Regions from separate parts of the Homo sapiens genome. Here regions 1, 2, 3 and 4 are each linked to region 5. The links are contacts of gene promoters, found by promoter capture Hi-C in human tissues and cell types (Jung and others, 2019). All regions are on one chromosome and are shown on one strand. The core of a region is centred on a gene start or on the middle of the fragment in contact, and the rest is flanking DNA. Distances in the headings are between cores, read along the strand shown.

Region 1 (4,183 bases), core at 167-2,666, 160 kb before region 5:
AACATTGGTACTCAGACCACAGGACCCAGTGGGGTAGGATGCTGTACACCAGGCCGGCCGCTCCTGCCGTGCAAATGTTCCTCAGCAGCACATAGCACCTATCGGGTAAGGCCAGCCCAGCTGCCTGCTCTTAGCCTGGGCTCCTGGCCGCCTGGCTCAGAACCTTAGCTAAGGTGTTGGGCCTTGGCTTTTTTTCTTTTCTTGGCTTGTAAAGTTTCGTTTATTAATGTGTACAATCAATAAGAGATCACCCTTACTGCGAGAAGGGGAAAGAGGGCCAGCATTACGTTTTATTTACAATTTGTTTTGCTTCGGTTATTACCAAAATTAATTTGGATATCCTTAGTATTTGTGATGAACACCAAGGAAAGGTATTCTAAGAATATGCTGATTATTGAAGGGATGTACTTAATCTTCAAAACAGAAAATACTTACTGTAATCAAAGACTGTGTATTTATCTCCCTCCCCTAAAAAAGGCCTAAAATTCAGCATTATCATATCCTGTGTAGAATTTCAATGTGTCTCTTTTGAACTATTTCCTGCAAAATGAATGAGAACAGTCTTTAAACAGCAAAAATGTCTATTTTTTTTTTTGGACAGGGTCTTTTTTTTGACAGCACCCAGGTTAGAGTGCAGTGGTGTGATCATAGCTCACTGCAGCCTTGAACTCCTAGGCTCAAGTGATCCTCCCACCTCAGCCTCCAAGTACAGGCATGTGACACCATGCCTGGTTAATTTTGTGTATTTTTTTGTAGTGACAGGGGTCTCATTATGTTGCCAAGGCTGATCTCAAACTCCTGGCCTCAAGCGATCCTCCCACTTTGGCCTTCCAAAGTTCTAGGATTATAGGTGTGAGCCACCACACCTGGCCAAAATGTTTTAAAATTACCAAGATGTGAAAGGGTGAGAGGTGTGCCGGGGACATGTCCATAAATCTACTTGATAAAAAGTGCTTTATTTGGCACAAAGTTATTGGTAACACAGGGCTTTCCTTTATCAACGTTCATCAGGGACCTTTATAAGTTCGTAGCACTACAGGAAACGTCTAAGCTAGAGGCATGACTTTGTCTTCTAATCCACTTTGCCCTTGTTGGGGACTCTCCACCCCACCTGATCATCCAGACCTTGCCCTCTGTTCCCCTCCTCCAGTGCCTCCCTGGCCTTCTGCTCACTTGCCAGGGTAAGTATTTTGAGGACATGCCTGTCCATGGTGATTAAGGGATGTGTCCCCGGCACCATGCAGGTCCAGGAGCCGGCTGTGCACATCCCAGGACAGGAGCCCCTGACCGCGTCCATGCTGGCTGCGGCGCCCCTGCATGAGCAAAAGCAGATGATTGGTGAGTGGCTGGTTCTCCTACTGTGGAGCAAGAAGAGGAGGGCTGCGAGCTGGCTAGCCTGCTGGGAAACACCTCACCTGGTGGTCCAACGTGAGGTCAAATTCCAGCTTTGTCACCGACCCCCCTACTGGGTGACCGTGGCCAAGCTGGCTCTATTCTCTAGGCACCTGTTATCTTGTCTTAAAACGCTGGTCAGACTGGATGGTCCTGAGCTTTCTTCCACTGCTGCTGTCCTGTGACTTTGAGGTTGGGAGACAGTCCAGATGTGGGGAGATCAGGGGACAAAGGGAGGAGTAGGGGTATGGTCTTGGGTTTCTGCTGAGAAATGGCTTGTAGGTGGGGGGTTAAAGTTCCTCACACCTCTCCTGAACGGGAGGAAGCTGCTGTTCACCAGTTTCCAGTGCTCAATGCGGGCAGGTGGGGCATCTGTGCGTTTGGTAAATACATGATGTTTCCCATAGATTCTGGATTCCTTGTGCAATTCATCTTCACCCCTAGTGTCCATGGCAGGCCCTGATAAAAATGCCACTAAGTGAACACAAGCTTGTTCCTGGTTGGCAGGTTCTTTACTGCATGGCCCCCGAGACCTCCAGACCCTTTACTGAAGGCCCCCATTACCACTGCCCCATTGTTTCCTCAGCTTACTTAGGGTTTTGCCACATTACCCCTTCCCCTCACCCCGAAATTTTTTTTTTTTTCCCTGAGATGGAGTCTTGCTCTGCTGCCCCGGCTGGAGTGCAGTGGCACGATTTTGGCTCACTGCAACCTCCACCTCCCGGGTTCAAGTGATTCTCCTGCCTCAGCCTTCTGAGTAGCTGGGCTTACAGGCACATGCCACCATGACCAGCTAAGTTTTGTATTTTTATTAGAGATGGGGTTTCACCATGTTGGCCAGGCTGGTTTCAAACTCCTGATCTCAGGTGATCCACCCACCTCAGCCTCCCAAAGTACTGTGATTACAGGTGTGAGCCACCATGCCTGGCCTCACCCAGAAACATTTTGAATGAGCTTAATGGAAGTAGAAGTCTTTGTTAGTAGTTCTCTGTAAACATTTTCACTTTCTTCATGGGACGATCCTTTCCGCCCCCACTTAAGGCACCCAGTCCTGGCTGGGCCCTGGACACATTGCTGAGATGGGCTGACCACCAATACCAGGCCCAGTCATTAAAAGTACCTGATGTTAGAAGATCAAGTGTTAAATGTCATAGCCTAGAAGGAGCAGTTCTGGGAGAAGAACCCAGATGTCCTCAGTGCTCCACTCCATACGAGCCCTGGGATGCTGGGGTGTGAGCTAGGCCGTGCACAAGCCATTAGAAGGTGTTCCACACAGGGGAGCGTCTCTACCCCCTTATCCATGATGTCCACACCCAGCTGGCTGGCAAGATCACGGGCATGCTGCTGGAGATTGACAACTCAGAGCTGTTGCTCATGCTGGAGTCTCCAGAATCCCTCCATGCCAAGGTAAGCAGGAGCCTGGGCAGCAGGGAGCCCGAGGGGGCAGGAGGAGAGCTAACGACAAGGGCTCTCCTAGTGGAGCCAGTGGATAGCTGTTTGGCCAGATAAAGTGTTTCTTCTTGCTAATACCTGAAGGCCTGCTGAATCTTAAGAGTGGAAGGGGCCTTAGGTAAGGGTTTGCTACTTCAGCCCTTCCGTAGACTAATTCTGTGTTGTTCTGTAGGTAGGTCTTTTGGTACAAGGAAGTGTGTTGTGACTCAGTGTAAGGGTTAAGATTTTTCCAGCTGTCCAGCAATGTACCTCTGTGTCAAAGGTGACAGACAGGGCCATGGGATCTTGCAAGCAGTGGTGGATGGGAGGGTTCCACAGAAACCCTGTGGATGGAGGAGGATCCTGTATCCAGGATGGTGAGCGAGGGGGAGATCAAGGCTCTTCTGTGACCTGCTAAGATAGCTGCACTAAGCCCCCCCGCCACTCATGTCTCACAGATAGACGAGGCAGTGGCCGTGCTGCAGGCACACCAGGCTATGGAGCAGCCGAAGGCGTACATGCACTGAAACCAGGTGGGTGGAATGGTGACAGAAGCAGCTGAGCCCGGGAGAAGCTGTAAGGAAATAGGCAGGGACTGACTTTCACAAACACTGAGAATTGCGCCGTGTTCCTGGCTTTCTCTGAAGCACCAAAGAGTTTGGAGGAAGTTGTGAGAATCAGAGGAGATGATTAACTGTGATCGGAATGGGGGGTGGTGGAGGGTGAAGGAGGTGCCCTCTTGCCAGCTGCCCTGCCTGGCTTCATGCAGAATAGTTTGGGCTTTCCCAGGGCCCTGCCTGGCTCCATTCTGCCTGCCTGAAGGCCTGGCCAGGATGTAACCACCTTCTTTATTGAAGACTGGGTGTCTGCCATACTTTAAAAACACTTATTTTTACCTTTTTGTCCTCAGAAAAGGAAATCCTCGCTTCCATGGCTGCCAAAAGGACAGTGTTTCTGGCTCTCAGCCCTAAGGCCCTGCAAACTCTAACTTATTTCCCAATTAGTCTGTATCTATACTTGGGCTCTGTATGTGAATGAAGGTTGGTCACCCATCCAGCCTATTACCTTTTGCTTTGTGTATTAAAAGTGCTGCAAAATCTGCCTTGCCTCCCAGGAGGCCCTTTTGTGTCTGAGGGAGGTGGGGACAGAGCAAACGGTAGACATGACTGGGGTGGGGCTCAGGCTCTAAGAAACAGAAACCCTAAAGGAGTGCTGAAGTACACAGAGGGCATATACACAAGAGCAGGAGAAGTGTTAGGAACTGACCCATCAACAGTACAGTGGATGATGACATGGATATCACACAATGGACCAGAGCTACAGGGGCCCCCATCTGATGTGCATGCAGCCCCTGGCTTGG
Region 2 (3,960 bases), core at 523-3,022, 210 kb before region 5:
GAATCCTTTTGATCTCTATGTGAATATGATCTTAGCAGTCATCTGTATTGCATGATGGAGAAACTAACGGTTGGAGCTGGATTCTGAGGGAATTTTTCTAAGGGGAATACTTGAGGAAACAGACTAAAAGTGCTTTCTGTCTCATGATATGTGTGCTGAAGGCCAATCATCTTACTGCTTTCTCAACTAAAAGATTTTCTAATAGAGGTGTGGTTATATGTATCTGATACTTGTAATGAGATGTAAATGATCAGTGGCCTCAAGTCATTCCTAGCAGATTGTAGGTTAGTTAACTTTTTTTTTTTTTTTAAATTCTGGCCAGTTCTTTATTATGTAAGTTTTTCCCGTACTGGTTAGTTTATTTTATTGTTTTCCCTAAAAGAACCAACAGGAGGTTATTTCTGAATGGCCTTGACCAGGACAAGAAGATTGAAGGCTACAATAAAGTAGATATGAGTCCTGTCTATTATTATTATTTGCCCTCAGCTAAGAGCTTTCCTTTAAAATTTGTTTGACATTTTGGTAAGTCTTTGGCATGTTTTTATGCTGTTTTTAACTCCTTGATTTTGTTTTTATTTTTAAAGCTAGATAACATTAGCTTAATAGGCCAGTTTTAAAATTTCACTGTAACAACCTTGTATAGTTCTTTTAAAAGTTGACAATTCTCTCTTTTCCTTAAGTGAGCATTGGAGTTCATAATTGATCTTTAGGAGATAGGGTTACATAAAGGAAAGAGCATTAATTTTAAAATTAATGTTGGTTTAGATCCCAGATCTGCCATATATAGCTGTGTGACCCTGAATGAGTTAACTCTTTGCATTTATAAAACGGGACAATGTCACCTGCCTCATAGGATACTTAGGATCAAATGCGTTTCTAGGAATCCCTGAGTGCTTTGCAGGCCATAAATGATGGATGGATATTTTTGTTATTTACTAAACGAGTTAGCTGGTTTGGGTTTCTGTATAGTGAACTTTTTGTATAGCGAACTGATTGGACTTCTGAATGGAGGAGATGGACAGAAAGTAATCCAAAGGCTTGTTGAAAGTCAGTTTGAATCTATAAATACAATGATTGGTAGCTGAAAAATATTAGTCAAAATGTATAGTGTTGCTCCTGATGAGAGCTGGCTGGCTTTTTTCAAAAAGTAGTCTAAGACAATAAAAACAGTCTGTATTTTATAGGTCAGATGTGTGCTACCTTCCTCTGTCCACGTAGGAAATAATTGCTTTTTCACTTTTTAAGAATGCATCAGTTGATCAAGCAGTCACTCAGTGTGCTAGGCCTTGTACTCCACATTGGGTGTCCAAAGATACAAGTCTGGATTCCTACTTTTTTTTTTTTTTTTTTTTTTTTTTGTGAGATGGAGTCTCACTCTGTCACCCAGGCTGGAGTGCAGTGGCACGATCTTGGCTCACTGCAACCTCTGAAGCCCGGGTTCAAGCAATTCTCCTGCCTCAGCCTCCTGAGTAGCTGGGATTACAGGCGCCTGCCACTGCGCCCAGCTAATTTTTGTATTTTTAGTAGAGACAGGGTTTCGCCATCTTGGCCAGGCTGGTCTTGAACTCCTGACCTTGCGATCCACCTGCCTCGGCCTCCCAAAGTGCTGGGATTACAGGCGTGAGCCACCACGCCTGGCTGGATTCCTACTTTAAGCTCACAATCCGGTGTGGGAGCCAGCAGAGACACTTGCATTGCAGTAAACTGTGATAAGGGCCATTTTAGAAATAAGCATAGGGAAATTGTTATGTGCCTTTCTTTTAAAAGTCTTTAAAGAAAGCAGAGTACGTGTAAAATAAATGAGGTACATAGTAAGTTTCCCTTCACTGGCTGACCATTGGTTTTTTAAGTTTTGTGTGGAATGTACTGTGGTTGCCATTTATTTGAGTGCTTACTGTTTTATATCATAAACAGGTTTACTCCTTACAGGAACCCTAGTAAGTAGATTTGCCTATGTTTTTTTTTTTCTTCACAGAGTCTTGCTCTGTCGCCTAGGCTGGAGTGCAGTGGCGTGATCTCAGCTCACTGCAGCCTCTGCCTTCAGGCTGCCTCAGCCTCCCAATTAGCTGGGATTACAGGCGCCTGCCACTATACCCGGCTAATTTTTTTATATATTTAGTAGAGACGGGGTTTCACCATGTTGGCCAGGCTGGTCTTGAACTCCTGACCTCAAGTGATCACCCTCCTCGGCCTCCCAGAGTGCTGGGATTACAGGCGTGAGCCACCACGCCCAGCCCAGATTTGCCTGTATTATGGATGAGAAAACAAATTCACAGAGGTCACATAGCCTGTGGACTTGGTGTGCGGTACTGGTAAATCAGACTGATAGGCTTCATTATGTCAGTGGGCCCCAAACTGTAGAAATTATTCATAAGGTCAACCAATTGGGCTGTCTTTATGGATCAGAATTAACATAGTGTCTTTTGGATTGATTACTTAAGCCAAGAAGTCAATTTATTGTCATATCTACCATTAAGTCACATGTGTAACCTTGCGCCTGTCACTTAACACCCTCAGTAAGTTTAATCATGGCTAATTGGACATAATTAGCAATGATATGCAACAGCTGATGTGAAAGAGGGAAGGGATTTTGAAATAATAGAAATGCAGTTTCTCTCCAAATTCAGTGTTCACTGGACTTAGTGCTAATGACTTTGTATTACAGATATGCTGTGTTTTGTTTCCTAACAAAGAACCTGCAAATGTTTGAATGGAATTAAATTTATTACAGGACTCTAAATTTTATATGTAGAATGGCACACAGACAGTTTTATAGTGGGTGTTTTTTAGTGAGTAGTTTTCTCTGAGAGCCAGGAGTGTTTAACTTTTTCTGGGTAACACCCACTAACCACCTGGTCCCACTGACTTTCTCAGTCCCTTCTGCAGTAGCTTGGCATCTGATTTTTCTTCAGCAGAGAGACTCCAGAACTAAAACTTCTGCTGTACAGTGCTGTGGATGCTCTATCTGGAATGGTACATCTGTGAATGCTGTTCAGAATATGTGATCAGTTCCTTACCCCATTGAAACATTCGAGCCTAGATTTTTCAGATTTTCTTGTCAGTTTTCTTCCTTATTCTCATTTCTTTATCTGCTTTGGCCTTTGATTTTTATCTCATCTAGAAAAACATACATGCACTTTATTAATAACATCTCTTTTTAAGTCACGACCTAGCTACCTTTAAACCTATTTCCTCTAGTTCTGTCTGGTTGGCTTTCTAAGGAGAGGCATTGTAACCCTTAAACGTGTGCTGTTTTTTTTTTTAATTGATGTGTAATAGATATACATGTGCTCTTTTCTTGTGTTTCTACCACTAGAGTTTAAGCTCTCTGAGGGGAGGACTACACTGCTTTCTTTTAAATTCCTCTCAATGAATAATCCAAAGAGTTCTTAGAAATTTGGTAGTTTTTCATTTTGTTAGTTATTTCAACACACATTGGATTATATGTGTTACATTTTTGTGAGGTAGCTTAAGAATAAAAAATAAGAATGGCTTATGAGCCTTTACTCTAACCAGCACTATATGGGCATTTTATGTTCATTATCTTATTTGATAGCTATTAATGTCTCTTTTTAACACTGAGAAAACAGATTCAGGTAAGTTATAATGTGGAAATGTAGAAAAATCACCTACTTTCTCTTTAGAAGCTCAGATGTGTATGTAAGGCTTGCTAAAAGCAGACCCCACCGTATATTTTATATGTATAGAGCTTGGGTAATTCCTGACATATAATAATGGAGTCTTCATCTGAAATTTCTAACAAATTATTAAATTCAAAGCTTATTATTTTCGAATCGAGCATGTTCTTTGCCTTGAAAACAAAACATAGCTGAAAGCCAGTGCTTCTAAAGGCCACAGCTGTCATTTTCAACCCTTTCTGTCTTTGCACTGCCTTTATTTAAAAAAAAATGGATTAGCAGTAGGTAGTCTTCTTTTTCTTTTCTTTCTTTCTTTTTTGAT
Region 3 (3,755 bases), core at 795-3,294, 230 kb before region 5:
TAGGATTACATATCTAGTTGGTGTTTGGGATAAGACTGAAACCCAGTTCTGTCTGACTTCAGAGCCTGTGGTGGGCTGTTGTGAGTCAGGTCCCGAGGAATCAGACTCCAATATGGAGATTTGAAGTCAGGAAGTCTATTGCAGAGTGCTGTCGGGATTACATCTGTGGAAAGGAAAAGTCAAACTGCAGTGCAACCTCAGCAGAGGCCTTGGCTAATGCCATGGGGAATATAGAGCTGGGATGGCAAGAGGACAGGACCTTGGAATGTCCACCTCGAACAGTCATAGGGACTCAGCTGAGAGCTGCCAGCAGCCAATGCTCCCAGCAGCTGGGGGAATAAATGCCCCATCCTGGGGATGGGGGTCTGGGTGGCACACCACAGTATGCACTGCAGCGCCCACTACCTATTCCCCATGCATTGCTCCTCAAATAAGGGAGATGGCTGGGAGGGAGACAACATCAGTGATGGGGTAGTGGAGGAGGAATTCAGAGAGTAAAAATGGTTTTGTCTGTCTTCCATCCACCTGTGACCTAGGCTATGCATGCCATCCAGCTGCAATAACCAATACATTTGGGTCATTCATGTTGATATAATGTATGGATTATTTTATGGGTTGCAAGCCATTAACAAATAAATAAAATGCAATATTCCACTGGCTGATTGGAGATGCATTCTTTGACATTCTCAAATAAGAAATGGAAGAATTGGCCAGGCACAGTGGCTCACGCCTGTAATCCTAACCCTTTGGGAGTCCAAGGCTGGGGGATCACTTGAGGTCAGGTGTTTGAAACCAGCCTGGCCAACATGATGAAACCCCATGTCTACTAAAAATACAAAAAAAAAAAAGCCAGGCGTGGTGGTGGGCGCCTGTAATCCCAGCTACTTGGGAGGCTGAGGCAGGAGAATCACTTGAACCCAGGAGTCGGAGGTTGCAGTGAGCCGAGATCATGCCACTACACTCCAGCCTGGGCGATAGAGTGAGATTCCATCTGAAAAATAAAAATAAAAATAAAATAAAAAGGAGATGGTGCCTTCTGCCCTGGGGTTAAAAAAATTAAAAAATTAAATTAAAAAGAGATGGATCTATTTGTATAATATGGAAAGACCTCTAAGACATATTTTTGCATGAAGAAATAAGATTCAGTACCCTAATAAACTATATAAAAATTATATCTATTTCTAGAGTTTTACATACACTATAAAAGGATGGAATTTTACCGACTTGCCCTATGGAAGGATTCTACATCCCCACCCCACGTAAGTCAGGCATAGCCATATGATTTGCTTTGGCCAAGGGAATTTGAGTGGAAGTGACATGTGAGACATCCAAGCAGAAGCTTTAAGAGGCTCCCCCATTCTCTCTTTTCCTTATTCCATGAGATCAGCATGTTCCAGCTGCTTCTTCCAGCTGTGTCCAGAGATACAGCTGAATTCAACCCATCACAAACATGCAATTAAGATATAAATTTTTAGGCTGGGCGCAGTGGCTCACGCCTGTAATCCCAGCACTCTGGGAGGCTGAGGCAGATGGATTGCTTGAGCTGGGGAGTTCGAGACCAGCCTGAGCAACATGGTAAAACCCTGTCTCCACAAAAACCACAAAAAATTAGCTGGGCCTTGTGGCACACATCTGTAGTCCCAGCTACTTGGGAGGCTGAGATGAGAGGATCACCTGAGCCCAGGAGGTCGAGGCTACGGTGAGCCATGATCATGCCACTGCACTACAGCCTGGGAGACAGAGTGAGACCCTGTCTCAACAAAAAAACAAACAAACAAAAGACATAAACTTTTATTAATATAAGACACTGAGACTTTGAGGATGTTGTTATTGTAGGTTATTGTAGCATAACCTAACCTACCATCACTGATAATACATGTTGCTATATATAACTGATATGTGGTTACTTCTGGGGAGGAGAAATGGCATTGGGAGGTGGCGATCATAGGGAATTTTAGTTTTTAATCTTTAATATTTTAGTTTTCTTACAATAAAAATATATCCACACATTACTATGTAATAAATATACATTATTTTAAAATGAATACAGCAGGTATTTCCCTACTTAAAATTAAATGCCAAAAAATATCTTTTTTTTTTAGACCGAGTCTCGCTCTGTTGCCCAGGCTGGAGTGCAATGGCATAATCTCGGCTCACTGCAACCTCCGCCTCCCGGGTTCAAGCCATTCTCCTGCCTCAGCCTCCTGACTAGCTGGGATTACAGGCGCTGGCCACCATGCCCAGCTAATTTTTGTATTTTTAGTAGAGACGGGGTTTCACCATGTTGGACAGGCTGATCTCAAACTCCTGACCTCAGATGATCCACCCACCTCGGCCTCCCAAAGCGCTGGGATTACAGACATGAGCCACTGAGGAGCTCTATTTCTGATTAAACCTATAGACCTCTCTGAGTTAGGATCTCAGCCCTTGTTCCATTAAAATGAAAAGCCAAAATTGGTTGCATGTATAGCAAAGACCTTGAAATATCATAGACTGCCTTGCAATTTCAACTTCTCATTCAAGCCAAACAACAGCCCTCTTTATCTTTGAAGTTTACTTTTGAGCAAAATCAAAGTGGCTAGACTCCCTGATCCACTGCCTAGTCCCCAGCTTCATGTGTGTCAGATAGTTACAGTGACCAGAGCAAGAGTAGCAGCAGCACCTCTGGCCTCTCAATCACATCTATGGTGACTTTGAAACAAAAGCCTCCTGGACTTCTGCAACTCCTGCTCTTCTCATGAATTTGTAACCACCTAATTCCCTATAGTCAATCCCTTTCTGCCTACAATACCTAGAGTGGTTTCTGTTCCTATCTCCTGCACAGAGGCATGACTTAGTACAGGTTGGAAGATAATATTCAGAAAAGAGACACAAAGACAAAAAGATGAAAAATTGGAAAGAAAAAGAAAAAAAAACAGTAAAATTAGAAAGCCATTTCAAGAGGTCAAACACCTGAAAAATTAGAGTTCTGGAAAGTGAAGATATAGAAAATGGGGAGAGGAAGGAAGAAAATATTCAAAGAAATAATTCATGAAAATTATTCCAGAACTGAAGAAAGTATATTTTCAGATTGGGAGAGATCATTGAGGAACAATTAGATGTTATGTGCCTCCTGAGATGACGCCATAGAAAATACAAGTCCTGTCTATAAAATATGATTGCCAAAAACTGAACTGAAATCTAATCAGGCCTCTAGATTGAACTACCAGTTTACAGGACATTGGAGGGATGGTGTCACATTTTAAAACAACATGAAGGGCCGTGCGCGGTGGCTCACGTCTGTAATCCTAGCACTTTGGGAGGCCAAGGCAGGCAGATTATCTGACCTCGGGAGTTCGAGACCAGCCTGGGCAATGTGGCAAAACCCCTTCTCTACTAAAAGTACAAAAATTAGCCGGGTGTGGTGGCACATGCCTGTAGTCCCATCTACCCAGGAGGCTGAGGCAGGAGAATCACTTGAGCCCAGGAGGCGGAGGTTACAGTAAGCTGAGATCGCTGCACTGCACTCCAGCCTGGGCGACAGAGCAAGACTCCATCTCAAAAAAAAAAAAAAAAAGAAAGAAAGAAAGAAAGAAATGAAATCTGAGCAATAACTTCCATGAGCTTGAAGGTAGATTCAGCTCCATGACCTCCAGAAAGGAATGCAGCCCAGCTGACAACTTAATTTTTGCTTTGTGAGACTCTAAGTGGCGGATCCCAGCAGACACACACTATACTCAGTCTTCTTACCTACAGAATTGTGAGATAAGAAGTGG
Region 4 (3,865 bases), core at 643-3,142, 150 kb before region 5:
TGTTCCATGTAAATACCCAACCGTCCTACTTAGATCTCTAGTCTTATGTCCCACAGTCACCTCCGACTGAATGTCAATAATCTGAGTGTCTTCTTCTATTCCTCCCTTCTCGATACCCCGCAACCACTAAAGCTTGTTGATATACTTCCTACATGTCCCCTGACTGGTCCCATTGTTTTCTCTCCACCCTCTCCCCTGGATTGCTGCATGACTCCTTTCTATTCTGTTGCCCTTCATATCATCCCTCAACATGGCAGCAAAGAGCTTTTCTCTAAAATACAAATCTGCTCATGTTGCTCCACTGCTAAAGACCTTTTCATAAAGGCTGACTTGCTCAGGATTAAGTCCAAGCCCTGAACCCTGGGTCTTGTGTGACTTGGCCTCACCAACCTGTCCCAAGCTGAGCTCCTGCCTGCAGCACCATGTGAAACCGACTTCTTACAATTCCTGTGATCTGTCACACTTGCTCACCTTTGCACACGCTGCTCTGTCTTCTGGCTAACCCCCTACCCCATATCTCTCATTCTTAGCTCACCTCCTCTGAAAAGCTCTCTCTGGCCTCCCCCTCTCCCTCTCAGCTAGCTAGGTGGCTCCTTTCTGGCCTCAGAGCCCCCTGTGCTGCCTCCTACCATGGCGCTTATCATGTTGTATTGTGCTTGCCTATTACTGACTGGTGTCTTCCTTGAGACCGGGACCTCTATGACGGCAGGAAGAGGTATGTCTCAGTCATCAGCCCAGGTCCTAGAGCAAAGTCTGTCACATAATTGGTAGATTTTGTGGAATCAGATAAGTTAAAAAGGAGGCAAAGAGAAAACAAAGAATGCTGGCAGACAAGTCAAGCCAGAAATAAAGCACTAAATACATACCATGAAGTCCCTGTTAAGGGTTTGCTATTAGTGCAGTGTTTGGCTTTCTAGCCGCACACGCAGAGGGGAAACATGATCAGTTATACAAATGACAATATCCATGAGATAAAAGCCAATAACTGCTCAGAGACCAGAAAGGAATTGCACCTGGGGAACCTCTTGGATTGGTCACAGTGCAATATACTGAACCATGTCCACAAACCATATCCTTTTAGGCTTGTCATAGCTGCTTGGGCTTGTGTCTTATTCTTCTAATTAGCGTTAGCGCTTTGAAGGTAAGTGGGGTCTGTATCTCTTTCTCATTTTGGTATCCCCCACTGAACCGGGCACAACACCTTAAACAGTGTACAATAAATATTACTGTGTACATAGATACTGTGAGGCACATGTAGGCAAATATCAATCAATCAATCTTAGTAATTGACTCCCTGAAAACCTGCTAAATAAAAAAGCAGATTTTCCTTTCTCAGCTTCCCCTACATGCCCATCGGGAGTTTTTTAAGTGTAGCCAAAGGGATCCCCTCAGAAGACAGACAAGGCAATGGCCCGCAGCCAATCAAGAAGGACAGGGAGTTGCCGTGGAGACCACCTGCTGGGAATGGAGCTCACCTGTTGATGCCTTCTACGGCTGACGTCACATTATCATCAATCTGCAGCACAGTCTTATAGTCAACATAGGCCATAGGGTACTTCTCCAGAGCCTCATAAGCAGATGCTCGCCGCAGCAGGGGCTTAATGCTGAAGGGAACCAAGGCCAGTGCTCTAGAATAGGAGGCAAAAATGTCAACTGGCTGGCTGCTGAGCCACCAGGGTTTCCCTACAGTTTCTTCCAGGCAGGGTTATCTGGAGCACTCAGCGTACAGGAAGTAATTTCTGGCCGAGAGACATGGCTAAAAACGCCAAACCTCAGAACAGGGATTTTTCAACGTAGACTGAAGTGAGGAGGAGAAAGAAGGCAGAGAAACATGAATTTTGTTAAATGTGTGTGCACATGCATCAATTTTCATAGTTTCAGTTCCCCCAAAATCAAGAACAAAAGCCTCATGGCTTTCATGCTACTATGTTTTTTTACAGTTGTGGTCTAGTGGGAATAACAAACAAGCTTTGGAGTCAGATGGGGTGGTGTCTGAATTCCACCTCTGCTGCTAACTATGTGACCCAGGTAAATCACTTTACTGCCCCAACCCTCAGCAACCAAGTTCTGGCCTGGGACACATGGTAACCGTACCCCACAGATTGGTTGTGAACACTCAAAGAGGGAAATCTGGCACAAGGCATGGCACAAATTAATTCAGCACAGGCTCTGTGAGTATGCTCACACCCCTCCTGCTCTCCTGGCTATCACCAGGGCAGGAATCTAAAGCAATGTCAGAGGACATCAGATCTGAGAACACATTTCAGGTAAATGTGAGAGTTTAATGATGATAAAAGAATATTAGACTGGCTTGAAGAAAAAGAGATATGAAACATTGTTCAGTGTCCTCTAAAACTGGTCATTCATGAATACCATTTTTTTCCTTTCTCCTTCTGAGACAATCTATTAACCTCTATTCCTCCTTCTTTCCTTCGCTCCCTTCCCCTCACATACTCCCATCCCAGAAAAGCACCTGGGCAAGCCAGTTACTGGTCTGCCACTCCACCTTATTCCCAGGTTTCAAATTGCACAAAGACTTTACGGCCTGCTTCTAACTGCCCATCCCACTCCTTTTTCGGCAGCAGAGCCAAGACTCCAAAGATGCAAGTCACGGGCCATAAGGACCAAATAAAGACTCCCATTCTCAGTGACCTGGTGAAACTCAGTGACACTTTCTTAATATCTGTCCCAGATGTAATTGATGGGATCCTTCCAAAGAAGAAACAAGCCAGATTAACCCAGCCTCCTCTTCTGAGACCCTCAGGCATCCCAAAATTACCCTTGGCCACTTACGAAGTGCAATCTTTGATGCAGTCTCTGCAGTTTCCATCCTTCAAGTGACATGCTGCTCGGTTGGAGTAGAGAACACTTTCTTCTTCTGGGTCTGAAGAACCTGCCCAGATAGAGTGGGGAAGATGATCAGTTTGGAAAATGGGTGCCTCAGGGCATTAGGATACATTTCAAACTCAGAGCTCTTTGGGCCTTGTGTTAAGGCAGTAGAGATAACTATAACCTGTTCAGGCTTGTTGGTCTGCTGGGCTGGCGTGTTTGTCATTCTTATGTGACAGAAGGACACTGCGCTTTTTGCCATTCAAAGGGAACCAAGTATTTCCTCATTCACTCATTCCAGCACTGAACTTGATAACAGACAAAAGATAAACAAGAAATAGCTAGCTTCTGCCTCAAAGAAATCCATGCTGTAACTACTTGGGTTTGGGTGGATAAATGGATGGATAGGTGTGTATTTTATTACAAAAAGCATTTAAATCCAAGAAAGAAAGAAAAAAAAAAAAAGAAAAGAAAGGGAGGGAGGGAGGGAACAAGATGATAAACGTATGATAAATGGATTGACCAAAAGTTGTAGGGGCACAAAACACCCATGAAAGACATGAGACTAGTTTTACCTGGTCAAGCCAGGGAGGACTTTGTCAGGGAAATGATAATTGAGCTGGGTGTGATGGGAGTACAGAGAACTTAATCAGGAAAAAGTCTTAAGCTACCCCATGGGGAGAATTATTAGACATTCTTCTAAGGCAGTCCTTACCCTCAGGAATCGCAGAGGCTCAAGTCCTTCACTGTGGCCACCATGATCTTTATTTACGTATTTTTTTTTGAGACAGAGTCCTGCTCTGTTGCCCAGCCTGGAGTGCAGTGGAGCGATCTCCGCTCACTGCAACTCCACCTCCTGGGTTCAAGCAATTCTCCTGCCTCAGCCTCAGCCTCCTGAGTAGCTGGGATTACAGGCACTCGCCACCACGCCTGGTAGAGACAGGGTTTCACTATGTTGGCCAAGCTGGTCTTGAACTCCTGACCTCAGGCAATCCGCCTGCCTCGGCCTCCCAAAGTACTGGGATTACAGACGTGA
Region 5 (3,742 bases), core at 185-2,684:
CACAACGTAGATAATAGCACCTACCTCCAGGGATGACTGGAGGATTAAGGTAGATTATAGAAAGTGCTCAGCCTTAGTGGATACTCAGGAAGGATTTAGGTTCTTCCACTACCCACTGACTCCTGACTCTGCTGGAATTGGGGGCTAGTGACACCTCCTCACCACTGGCAATCTCATTTGCACTGTGGGTTCAGTAATGCCTAGACTAGGGATTAAGTGTGTGTAAAGCACCTGGGCTTGGCATTAAATGGATTTGGGGTTCCACCCTTAGCTCTATCACTTGTGTGACCTCAGGCCAGTCTCCTTCCCACTCTGGGCTTTAGCTCTTTTACCTCTAGAATGGGGATAATGTTGCTTTGGATGCATCATTATTGTGGTATATGTCAAAGCCCTGGGAAAACAGTAGATGCTCAATAAATGTTAATCCTGTGTACTTCCCTGTGGTCAGACCTGAGTCTACCACTTACTAGCTGCTGTCCTTGAGTGCATTCGTCGCCCTCTCTGGGCTTGTTTCCCTGTCTGTGGAACCGGGTAGCATCATACTTTCCAGGAGAGGCTCAGAGAATTAAATGATGCAAGGTGTTTATCGGCAGCATGGTCCCTGGCACATAATCAATGCACAATAAACGTGTGATGTAGCTCCGCTCCCACCTCCACTTGGATCTCCACCTGCATTTGGCATCAAAAAATGAAATTTCTAATCCAGTTCCATCACCCATTAGAAGCATAATATTGGGCAAATCCCTTCATCCATCAGGAGCTCACTTTCCTGCTCTATGAAACAGGATAATTAATTCAACAAACATTTTCTGACAAGAACCTGAATATCAGTAAGAAAGACCAAGTGACTTGTTCAAAATCACCCAGCTAGTCCATGGCACAGCTAAGGTTGGAGACCAGGTTTTTTTATTTCATTCTCTCTCCACACACTTATTTTGAGCACCTCCTATCTGCTAGTCACTCCTCTGGGCTCCATGCACACCTCACTCGGTTTAATCCCTACACCAACCCTGCCAGGGAGGTTTTCTAATCCCATTTTACAGATGAGCAAACTGTACCAGCCAGGGTCTCCAAAGCGCGGCCACCCCACACTGCTTCCTCCTTGGCGGGGGGTGGGGGGTCTCTTAGAGGGGGTAAGAGCACCAGGAGCCCCAGGCAGCCCCGCCTCCCACTCTGGCTGCCCGGGACCGTCCCGGAGCCACGTCCCTCCCCAAAGGAGGCCCCTTACCTGTGGTGGCACCTCCCGGGCGCCTCGCGTGTCTGTCCCAAAGCCACCGAGGCTGGGAGCCGCTGGCTATACTCGGTCTCGCCTCTGCCCCGCCGGCCCCGCCGAGCCTCCTGCTGCAGGCGGCCCCGCTGCCCTCTCCTTCCTTCTTCCTTGCCTAGTCCCCCGCGGCTGAAGGCCGCATCGATCGCTGCCGGAGGAGGGAGTGAGGCCGCTGGCGGCCGGAGGCGGCGGTTTCTATTCCTGACTCGGCTGGGGGGTGGTGGTGTCTGGAGACTGGGCCTACCTGCAGGGGCATCCTCCGGAGTTACGGGCCGGGAAGGAGGGGTCATTTAGGGCGTGAGGATTCCCCGTAGAGAGGGATTTCAGCAGAAGCTTCTCTGGCAAAGGAACAACAGTAATCATGATTTACTTAATTGAGTGTTTAGTATGTGCCAGGGTACTTCAGCTGCTGCAAGTGATTGATCTCAGTTATTCCTGGCACACACACTTGACAGGGCCAGGATCTTATGTCGCCCATTTTAGGGGTGAGCTCCAGTCATTTTCTCAGACCGTGGGCATCTGAGTTAGGGAGCTGTAGAAGGTGGCCTCATCTCCCTTGGAGCCCCAGGTTCTTCCTAGGTGAGTTGTGAAGCTTGAAACGATCATTTTACCCCTGAGGCGCAGTGTCCTTACCTGCCCACGGGTTCCTGATTCCCACCTGCCAAGTGGGTTGTGAGGGCAGAGAACATGTGCCAAAGAGCTTTGTAGAGGTTGTGAAATCCCCACACATGTACCTGTTGTGTGGCTGCTGTGTGCCTGGTTGGGGAGAGGCTCCTGGAGACTAGGGCCTGGATATGAGCCTTTGCACATATTGTTATTAATAATAATGATAATTACCAACGTTTATTGAGTACTTACCTTGGGTCAAGCACAGACCTCAATCTCACTCAAACTGCAAATTTATCTGTGGGGTAAGTGCTACTATTATTCCTATCTCACAGATAAGAACTGCTTTGAGAGGTGTGGTGACTTGCCGGAGGTCCCATGGCTGACTTCTGAGTCCTCTAGGCCAGCACAGTCCAACACCTATAATGTGAGCCACATATATAATTTTATTTTATTTTATTTTTGATTTTTTGAGATAGAGTCTCACTCACTCTGTTGCAGGCTGGAGTGCAGTGGCACAATCTTGGCTCACTGCAACCTCCGCCTCCTGGGTTCAAGCGATTCTCCTGCCTCAGCCTCCTGAGTAGCTGGGATTACAGGCATGCACCACCATGCCCAGCTAATTTTTGTATTTTTAGTACAGAAGGGGTTTCACCATGTTGGCCAGGCTGGTCTTGAACTCCTGGCCTCAAATGATCCACCTGCCTTGGCCTCACAAAATGCTGAGATTACAGGCATGAGCCACCGCGTCCGGCCCACATATGTCCTTTTACATTTCTGATTGCAACATTTTAAAGAAGTAAAAAACAGGCGAAATTACAGTTACCCCTTAAACAGTGGGGGTTAGGGAAACCACTCCTCCATGCCTAGAAAATTAGAATATAACTTTTGACTCCCCTGAAACTTAACTAGTAATAACTTACTGTTCGCCAGAAACCTTACCAATAATATAAACAGTCGATTGACACATAAATAGTATCTACATATATCTTAGGCATTCACGACATATCTAACTTATTCTTAAGGCTTTTGATATTTCTAGTCTACATGGTTCATCTGTAAGTTTTTTCAAATTGTCACAAATCTCCAAAAATTTTCCAATGTATTTATTGGAAAAAAATCTGCATGTAAGTGGACACTAGCAGTTCAAACTCGTGTTGTTTCAGGATCAACTGTATTTTTAGTGATATATTTTATTAAATCTAAAATATTATGATTTCAACATTGGAATCAGTAAAGAAATTATTGAGATATTTTACATTTTCTTTTTTTTGTACTAAGTCTCTAAAATCCAGTACTAATTTTTCTTATTGCTACATAACAAATTACCACAATTTAGTAGCTTAAAACAATACAAATTTATGATCTCATGGTTTCTGTAGGTCAGAAGTCTGGGCATGGCCTGGCTGGACCCTCAGGGTCTCACCAGGTTGAAGCCAAGGTGTTGGCCAGGGTTGAGGTTCTCATGTGAGCTTCAGAGTTTTCTTCCAAGCTCACAGATTGTTGGCAGAATTCATTTCCTTGTGGTTATAGGACTGAGGTCTCTCTTTTCCTGTTAGCTGTCTCCGAGGGATCAATCTCAGATTCTAGAAGCTGCCCCATAGGCAGTTCATAGCATGAATGCTTGCTTTCTTTCAGGGACATCAGAGTGCTGAATTCCTCTCCTGTAACCAGCCAGAGAAAAATCTCTGGCTTTAAAACTCTCACCTGATTAGTCCAGGCCCACCCAGGGCACTCTCCCTTCTGCCATATAATATACATTCACGGGTTCCACCTACACTTAAAGAGGAGGAGATTATACAGGGATGAGGATCATTGAGGAGGGGTCATCTGAATTCTGCCTCCCATATATAAATCTAGTGTACTAAT

What was found. Contacts are between HindIII fragments. The study calls those that stand out against the background at their distance.
Region 1: a fragment that was not itself captured here is called in contact with the fragment with the promoter of KCNS1 in region 5 in 1 of the 25 tissues and cell types used here (spleen).
Region 2: a contact is called between a fragment that was not itself captured here and the fragment with the promoter of KCNS1 in region 5, in 3 of the 25 tissues and cell types used here (dorsolateral prefrontal cortex, lymphoblastoid cells and spleen).
Region 3: a contact is called between a fragment that was not itself captured here and the fragment with the promoter of KCNS1 in region 5, in 1 of the 25 tissues and cell types used here (spleen).
Region 4: a fragment that was not itself captured here is called in contact with the fragment with the promoter of KCNS1 in region 5 in 4 of the 25 tissues and cell types used here (H1 embryonic stem cells, dorsolateral prefrontal cortex, lymphoblastoid cells and 1 more).

What each region holds. Positions count from the first base shown.
Region 1 is chr20:44,935,393-44,939,575 of GRCh38, forward strand. PABPC1L (poly(A) binding protein cytoplasmic 1 like) reads left to right here. Exons shown (of 15, transcript NM_001372179.1): 11 at 1-105; 12 at 1,245-1,338; 13 at 2,669-2,799; 14 at 3,282-3,356; 15 at 3,734-3,924. The coding sequence ends at 3,350. Among named protein-coding and RNA genes, the nearest start is that of TOMM34, 23 kb to the right of the region's middle. The HindIII fragment of the contact is 3,369 bases long and covers 1-3,101 here.
Region 2 is chr20:44,889,169-44,893,128 of GRCh38, forward strand. All of the region lies in intron 1 of YWHAB (tyrosine 3-monooxygenase/tryptophan 5-monooxygenase activation protein beta), which reads left to right. Among named protein-coding and RNA genes, the nearest start is that of YWHAB, 5.4 kb to the left of the region's middle. The HindIII fragment of the contact is 5,673 bases long and covers 1-3,960 here.
Region 3 is chr20:44,868,263-44,872,017 of GRCh38, forward strand. No RefSeq gene overlaps it. Among named protein-coding and RNA genes, the nearest start is that of YWHAB, 16 kb to the right of the region's middle. The HindIII fragment of the contact is 3,967 bases long and covers 62-3,755 here.
Region 4 is chr20:44,953,593-44,957,457 of GRCh38, forward strand. It overlaps TOMM34 (translocase of outer mitochondrial membrane 34), which reads right to left. Exons shown (of 7, transcript NM_006809.5): 2 at 2,794-2,893; 3 at 1,476-1,628. LOC124904912 (a long non-coding RNA gene) reads left to right here and starts at 1,624. Exons shown (of 2, transcript XR_007067599.1): 1 at 1,624-2,028. The HindIII fragment of the contact is 7,243 bases long and covers 1-3,865 here.
Region 5 is chr20:45,099,693-45,103,434 of GRCh38, forward strand. KCNS1 (potassium voltage-gated channel modifier subfamily S member 1) reads right to left here and starts at 1,435. Exons shown (of 4, transcript NM_001322799.2): 1 at 1,229-1,435. The HindIII fragment of the contact is 6,202 bases long and covers 1-3,109 here.